3 separate regions of the Homo sapiens genome follow, and regions 2 and 3 are each linked to region 1. The links are contacts of gene promoters, found by promoter capture Hi-C in blood cells and fetal thymus (Javierre and others, 2016). All regions are on one chromosome and are shown on one strand. Each heading gives the region's core, a stretch centred on a gene start or on the middle of the fragment in contact. The rest is flanking DNA. Distances are from core to core; before and after follow the strand shown.

Region 1 (2,700 bases), core at 159-2,658:
GTTGGGCTTGTTTTCTGCCCGGACCAGGATGTAAGCTCCATGAAGACAGTCTCAATTTTGTTCACTACCGCATCATCAGTTCCTAGAACAGAGCCTGGCACCTCTGCAGAATGTTAAATGGCTCTTCGTGAATCAACTCCAGGTGGGTTGCCCACATGAAAAACATTTCTGCATCTTTTGCAAAAGTGGCTTGGCTAGTACCATCCACTGTTTTCCAGTGTTCCTTTATGTGACATAAATCTTACTAGAACTCAGTACTAGGACAAAGTGTGTGTGTGTGTGTGTGTGTGTGTGTGTTTCCTGAGCTCACATATTTTCCACCAGCTGGGTTCGCTTCTATTGTCAGGAAGCTTGGAGCATAATTCACGTTCAATTACAGTGTTTCCCTTAATCCCTTTTTCTGATGGGGACATAGGATATAAATAAGTGTAAGAAGATTCTGTTGGTACATGTTTAAGACCCTATTTTTAACCACAGACTGCATTTATTCTACTAAGATGCTTCTCAAACTTGAATGTGCCAGAGAATCACCCGCGGATCTAGTTGAAATGCAGAATCAGACTCAGTAGGTCGGGGGCGGGGCGTGAGATGCTGCAGTTCTTACAAGCTCCCAGGTGATGCCTATGCGGCTGGGCCCTGGACCACATTTTGAGTAGCAGAGGGTCTAAGAAACGTGCTTCCTTGATTCAGCGGGATTTCTCTCTCCTGCTCCTTGGCAAAACATGACCAAAGTCTCAAAAACTGAAGCGGACGGCAGAAGCACCTAGAGAGCTGGTTAGACCTACGCCTCGCTGACCCCCCCCCCCCCCCCCCACAGCCCATGCCCGCTGTGATCCCGATGAAAGGGGCTAGGAATCCACCTAGGAAGTTCCCCAGGTGCTTCTGCTGTCGGTGGCCTCGCAGCAAATTTCGAAAATGACTGCTCTCTTCAAGGTTTTCTCAAAGGTAAACTCTTGGGGACAGCTGTTGTCACCAGTGGTACACCTGCTCGTTCAGGATTTTAGGGGGCCCATCCCGCTGTTTCCAGCCCAGCGTCAGGAGGGGACCCACCCCTCCTCTCCGGCTACTCCGACCGCGGCGGAGTCAACCCCCACGGGCCCGGGGCTCGGACCCCCGCCGCTCCGCCTCGCACAGCCGGGCCGGCCGGTGGCAGCCACCGCAGGCCCGAGAGGCGGGGACCGTGCCGCTCATGCGCAGAGCGACCCCTGGGCCCACAAGGCGGGGTCCCCGCGCGGTCCCCGCGCGCCCCCCGCCCGCCTTACCTCGCTGGACCAGGGTGGCCAAGGAGAAAGCGAGGCAGACAAGGAACGCCGAGCGCCAGGCCACCATGGCTGGGAGCAGGCGGAGGGCCCCGGAGGAGCACAGTTAGCGCGAGAGCGCCCGAAGGGGAGGCCGAGGAGGAGCGGGAGGAGGAGCCCCGCCGCCTCTGCAGGGTCCCGCCCAAAGCCCGCGCGCGCGCGCGGCGCGGCCCCGGGAAGATGGAGGTCGGGCGCGCTAGAGAGCCGGCGCCTGAGGGCGCCTGGGCTGGGGTTAGGCCGGGGGGCGGGGCGAGGCTGCAGTATCGGGGGCGGGGCCGCGTTCTGGAGGCGGGGCTCCGGGCGAGGGGCGTGGCCTGCGGGCACCCGGTGGGTGGGGAGGCCTGGGTTGGGTTGGGCTGGGTCCAGCGGCAGCGCGCGGTCCGCAGACCCTGTCCCACCTCGGTCCTCGAGACCGAAGTCTCGGAGGTGGCCCCGCGGACCTGGAGCAGTGAGTCACCAGTGCCGGGGAGCGGGAGGCGGCAGCGCCGGTGGGCGCCGATTTCCTCCCGGGTGACCTTGAGAAGGGCTCTTCCCCTTCTGGCCTTGGTGTTCTCCCGGTGAAGGGTTGTTCCCTTGGGGCCCCTCCAGACACCGTCCAGCACGGAGCCCCGCACTCTGTCCCCACCCGCTGTTCCCTGCAGGAGTGAAACCCTGGCCGGAGACTGAAGAAAAGGACCGTTTTCGTGACTGGCTGCGGTCAACAAGCAGTGACACGTCTCGAGAAAACGAGGCCGGGGGCGCCCGGGTGGGCGACAGGGGAGGATGGGGGCGTCCCGGAGCCGAAGCGCCGCGGGCTCGGGAGACTGGGGGTAGGGACTGGGTCAGCTCTCCCGAGGCTTTGATGAATGCGCTGAAAGTGCAAGTTCATATCTGCAGAGTCGATCTCAAAAACGTGCTTAATGACCGACAAACGCGCTGCAGTCCTTTCCCATGAACCCCCGCAAACGGAGTCCGTCTCCCAGACCCGAAGAAATCAGATTCCGATACGATACTGTGCCGACCAGCAAAATGCCCGCTGCAGCAGTTGATGGGAACGCTCCCTAGAAGAGCCCCAGCTGCAACCGGCTCTCGAAGACAAAGAGGAAGCGCTACTGCTCTCCGGAGTGGTAGCGTGAGCCTGTCCCTGCCATTATGCGGCACCGGCTGCCCAGGGCCACATCCTCCTTAGAGGGCGGCTACTACCACCTCCCCTCAATATCCATTCGGCAGCTTTCCTGTGCCCCCAACCCAGCCCTCGCTGCCATAGGCACCCCCCTCAGTGGCTCCCACCAACCCCTAAGGAACAGTGGGGTGTGGGGTCTCCCTGAGATGGAGCCGAAATCTCCCGTGTGGCTTACATCCATTGCCCTGAATCTTAGGGCTGCAGAAACAAAACAGCATATGAGGAGTGGATCTTCCCAGG
Region 2 (2,700 bases), core at 142-2,641, 150 kb before region 1:
ACACCAAAAGTTACTTGTCTTTGCAAATGGTTTTTATCAATCATCTTGTCCACTAGGTCCAAACCAAGGCCCTACTCCTCTATAGATTCTGCTGCTTTTGCTCCCCTTCAAAAGGTTAAGGAAGTACAGTCTCCTGCTGAGCAGTTCATCTAAGATTTGGCCAGATGTTAGAAATGAGGATGGGAATGAACTGCTAGTACATGGGATTAGACCAGGCAATCCAGGAATCTCCACACTCTGCCCCAGTCCAGAGCCTCTCCCACCCAAGGTCACTGAGGGAAATGAGTGTCCAAGAACCAATGGCATAGAGGAAGCTGCATAGCATTTTGCTATTAGCTGGTGCATCGTTCCCAAACCCCAATGCACAGGGCCCTGGTAAAGAAGGGAGCCATCTAGGGATCCCCTTCCCTTGAGCTGGTCAGGCCCTTTGGCTTCAGTTCAAAGTAGGCCATAAGGCCATAGTTCCTGCACTGTTTTGTTGTCGTTGTTTTCCCCCTCATCTCCAACATCTAAACCTGAGTTTGGTCTCCTATCCTTGTGATAAGAGACAGTGCCAGGGCAATGGACCTGGAACCAGAGAGAGAGGCAAAAGAGAGTAGTTTCCCCAGTGCCTGCTGCGCAACCTGGCTGAGGGTGGGGCTATGGGGTACAGAACAAGTTAGGGGGCTGAGATCCAGGGTCTGAGCCTTCTCTTGCTAGTCATTCACCAGGAGCTCTGGCCTTGGCTGCTTCAGTCACGGGGAAGGGAAGCAGCCAGGACACTGCCGGTGATCTGCGGGGATGCTACCAATAGCCCTGCTGCTCTTGATTGATCCTCCCGCAGCCTTATCACCATCAGCCCAGGGCCTTTTCAGAGGACATCTGCCTCCCTACTGCAGAAAGTCTGTGAAATACTAGGCCTGTTTCCCCACTGAGAGCTACTGTTACTGATGGCAGTGTGTGTTGGGGCAGAAGGAAGGTTGATAGTCATGATGCTGCCTGTGCTGTCCGGCTCCCCAGCAGCTCTGCCCTGAGGAGGACCTGGAGAACTCAGAAGATGGCTCTCCACCTTGAGTGCACACAGCCAGCCCCTGGGAACCTTCTTCCTGTGAGCCTGGAGACAGGCTTAGGTGTGTGTAAAAGTTCCCCAGGTGATTCAGATGTGCAAATGAGTTTGACAACCAGTGATCTAGCTTAGTGCTCCAAATGTGGTCCTGAGAACTTGTTAGAGACACCAAACTTCAGCCTCACTGATGACCTTCCAGTGCTCTGGGTGTGGGGCCCAGCCCTCTGGTTCCACAAGCCCTTCTGGGGGCTGATGGATGCTCAACTTGGAGACCATTGCTGTAGACTAACATTGCTCAAACCTTAATGAGCACACAAGTCCCCTGGGACTCTTATTGAAATGCAGATTCTGATTCAGTGGGGCTGAGGCAGAGCCTGAGATGCCACATTTCTGATAAGCTCTCAGGTGATGCCATCGGGTCACAGATCACATTTTCAGTGGCAAGGGAGCACAGAGACATACCTCTAGAAATAAGGAACAAAGGGGAGGGAGTCTGAATAGCCAAAGTAGATTTCATGGAGTCCTCAGGCCCTCACTTAGAAATTAACACTGACTTTTACACCCAGCTTCAACAAACTGATTGGGGTCTCACATGATCTGATGGCCAGGTCACAGGTGATTAAAGATAGCCTGTTAGAGAGCTGGCCTGGGTAAGAGGGGCTGGTCCCAGAGGTAGGTGTGCTGATGGTGCATGTGAAAGGTAGCAGCAAACACACTCCAGAAGCATGAAGACTGGCCTGAAGCCTTACTGTTTTATAGAGCCAGGCACTGTTGCTATTTGTGTTGATGCTGAGCCAATAAGAAAGTTAAATGATTGTCATGTTCAGGTTAGGACAAGAAAGTATGAAACACATTTTAGAAAAATTGCATAAAAAGGTTGAACACAAAAAATAATTGCAGTGCTTCTAAAGGGATGAGCACCATTTCGGTGGATGTGAAATAGCTTATTCCTCCCAAATGTGGATTTTTAAACATCTTCAAACTGACCTCCATTCTTTATACTGCTTAGTGCCTGTTTTCATGTCTAAGCCATGTCATTTTTGTGCTTTTATTGGATTTTAAGAAAAGGGGTTTGAATTAGAAGATTTCAGATGCTTCTCACAGCTCTAAGATTCTGTCTGTGAAATGTGTGTATAATTAATTTCTTTTAAAATTACATTGTTAATGCATTAGCACAGACATCCATGACTAGTCTTTATCAGTTCATTAAGAAATGAATGAGATATATAGCAGGTATAAGATGCAGTCATAGGAAAGATTATTTTTAGGTTGCCTACTGTTAAGTAAGCTATGCAGTGTAAAATTGTCAGAAATATCAGAATAAAATGAACTAGTCTGTATGTGAACAAAGAAACTAAGGGAAAAATAATTGAGGGACTCTTTAGAGTCCCAAAGACACTCAATAATATCCATAGTTTAATACAATCCTTACTCCTCTGGGTAGGTTTAATAGTCATTGATATTTTTGTTCCTCAAGAGGTGCAGAATTGGGGCCAGGTGTGGTGGCTCACACCTATAATCTCAGCGACTCAGGAGGCTGAGGTAGAAGGATCGCTTGAGGCCAGGAATTCAAGACCAGCCTGGGCAACATAGTGAGACACCCCATCTCTTCAAAAAAAAAATTAAAAAATTAGCCAGGCATGGTGGTGTGCACC
Region 3 (2,757 bases), core at 144-2,643, 190 kb after region 1:
GTCATTAGTAACTCTTGATCTGATCTTTCAATGCTCTCTTCTGGACCTTCACTTCCCAGCTCTTCCCACCCTTTTGCAAAGTCGGATTTCCCAGAATCCCCACAGTGGCTCTGCTTTCCTGACTGAACTATGACTGGTACAGTTATGGCTAGGTTCCTCTTGGACACCAAAGTCACCCAAAAGGATAGTCCAGCTTTGGAGTAGGAGGAAGACAGTAAACTAAATCTCCAGTGACTGAGGCGCCATGACTAGGAGGTCATTAGATGATGGCAACCAGGAGGGAAATAGAGTGGTGGAACCAACTAGATAGACTGAGTGGCTAAAAATTAGGGGGTTTTACATGCAGGTGGCAGAACAGTGGCCTGAGCAAAGCACTATAGAATGAGGAGAATGCTTACCCTTCTCCTACTCTTAGGTGAGGGGCTCCCAAGATACGCGGGTGAAAGCCAGGGCTCAGAATGAGAAGGTAGAGAAAGACTCCAGTTAAGAAAGCCAGACTAGAGTTTGATTTTATAGACTAGGGGTGGTTGAACAGTGCAGTGGCTGAACACCACTGTGCTGTTCATGTGTATGTGAAACAGCCACATACACAAGTGAGCTTGAGAGAATTGTTTGCCTCCTCTGTGCCTCAATGTCCCCATCAGTGCAATGAGACCATGATAGTACCTACCTTATAGGACTACTGAGGAAATTAAAGGAGTTAATGCATGCAAAGTGCAAAGAACAATACTCCCTTAAAGTAGTGCTTAACAAGTAATACATACTCACTGAAGTTTTTTTTTTTTTTTCATTTGGCCCTTATCAAAACTCTGAGGTGTCAGCAAGGTAGGGATTATTGCCCCCAGTTGAAGAATGTGATACCCTGAGAGGTTATGGAGTTTTCCAAGAATCACACTTAGGAATAGAGTTCAGACAAGTCCCTGGTCTCCTAACTTGCTGGCCAACACATTTTCTACCACTGCTCCCTGCATTAGGAGTTCTGAGAAATGGTGAGTGAACAGGTCAGATGATGAGTAGTGTTGCATAAGCCAGGAAATTCTTCTCATCAAATCATGCCTTCACAGAGCCCTCAGTTATAGCCACCCCACCTAACAGTCACCCAGTCTTTACCATCAGCCCCTTCAAGCTGGGGTTCATCCTTTAATTGTCTCTGATTCCAGGTCCCTCCGCTGTTGGTCCTCAGAGCTGGTGGAAGATTGAATCTGCCCTTACCTGACCTAGTACATCCTACTGAGTTCCTGTTGAGCTTAATGTTCAGACAAACTAGTGATCTGATTAGCCCCAGTGTCTCCTGCTCTGGTTAGCCCCCTGCTGCTCTAATAGAGGAGGAGGGAGATTAAATGAGCAATGATGGTGAGGTGGTGGAGCTGCTGAAGTGTGTTTATAGATGGATTTTTAATATAAAAAATAATGACAATTGGCACTGGCAATTAATATATAATGAAGGCCCAGTAGCTGGAGCTGCTGATAAGAGGATAATAAATTGAAGTGTGAGAAACCCCCAAACCAATAGAGTAAATATCTGGAAATATTCATACAACCAGTAACTATGCGCTTTCCTTTGCCATTGGTTAGGGTGATCCAAGAGGGGAGCAGACAAGCAGATAGCAGGAATTACCCTAATATCATGAAGGGCAGGGCAGAGTGGGATCCTTTTAGCAGGTGAAAGCAGGGTTCTTGGAAAATTAGCAAACAGTGGTGGCAAAAGCATCAGAGAAAGGAGCCTGACTCACAGGCCTGGGTAGTGAAGGCTAGGAGGATGAGCAGGGCTCAGGGAGGTTACTGCTATGATGACAATATTCCAGGGAAGAAAATCTGAAAAAAAAATCATTCCAATGGGTTCAGGAATCTGAAATATCATCTCGCTGTAGCTCTGACTGCATTTTAAAAAATAACAGTTTTATTGAGAAATAATTCACACACCGCAAAATTCACTCTTCCAAAGGGTACAATCCAGTGGTTTCTAAAGTACATTCACAGTTGTGCAACCATCACCACTATCAATTTTGGAACATTTTCTTTTTTTTAACCACTTTATTGAGGTATATTGCATTAAAAGTTGTGCATATTTAATGTGTACATCTCAAGGAGTTTGGGGATAAGTATACGCCTGTGAAACCATCACCATTATCAAGGCCATAAATATTTCCATCACCTCCCACTGTTTCCTCCTGCCCTCTTTATTATTGTTTTTGGGTGTGTGTTAACAACACTTCATAAGATCTAGTCTCTTACAGCATAGTATAGTAGACCTTCAGAACTTATTTATCTTGCATAACTAAAACATTGTACCATTTGACCATCACTTCCCTATTTCTCTCTTCCCCCTTGTCTTTATCTGCCTGACTTATTTTACTTAACAAAATGCCCTCCAGGTTCATCCATGTTGTTGCAAATGTCAGGATTTCCTTCTTTTTTTAAAGGCTGAATAATATTCCACTGTACGTATGTACTAGACTTCCTTTATCCATTCATCCATCCATAGACATTTAGGTTGTTTCCATATCTTGGCTATTGTGAATAATGCTGCAGTGAACACAGGGGCACCAATATCTCTACAACATACTGATTTTCACTCTCTTGTTTGCGGTATTTTGTTTTGTTTTGTAGTTAGTTAGAGATGGGGTCTTGGTCTGTCACCCAAGCTAAAGTGCAGAGGTCCAATCATAGCTCACTGCAGCCTCAAACTCCTGGACTCAAGAGATCCTCCTGCCTCGGCCTCCCAAGTATGCAGCTTTGATTTGCATTTCCTTGACA

Evidence for each region. Contacts are between HindIII fragments. The CHiCAGO score rates a contact against its expected background, and 5 or more counts as called.
Region 2: a contact is called between a fragment that was not itself captured here and the fragment with the promoter of CD99L2 in region 1, in 1 of 17 cell types (monocytes). The highest score is 5.5, in monocytes.
Region 3: a contact is called between a fragment that was not itself captured here and the fragment with the promoter of CD99L2 in region 1, in 1 of 17 cell types (M2 macrophages). The highest score is 5.3, in M2 macrophages.

What each region holds. Positions count from the first base shown.
Region 1 is chrX:150,897,260-150,899,959 of GRCh38, forward strand. It overlaps CD99L2 (CD99 molecule like 2), which reads right to left and starts at 1,409. Exons shown (of 11, transcript NM_031462.4): 1 at 1,263-1,409. The coding sequence starts at 1,329. RefSeq lists a silencer at 1,084-1,693. The HindIII fragment of the contact is 7,642 bases long and covers 349-2,700 here.
Region 2 is chrX:150,744,631-150,747,330 of GRCh38, forward strand. The region is part of intron 13 of MTMR1 (myotubularin related protein 1); the gene reads left to right. Among named protein-coding and RNA genes, the nearest start is that of MTMR1, 53 kb to the left of the region's middle. The HindIII fragment of the contact is 4,726 bases long and covers 1-2,700 here.
Region 3 is chrX:151,091,011-151,093,767 of GRCh38, forward strand. No RefSeq gene overlaps it. Among named protein-coding and RNA genes, the nearest start is that of MIR4330, 76 kb to the right of the region's middle. The HindIII fragment of the contact is 8,072 bases long and covers 1-2,757 here.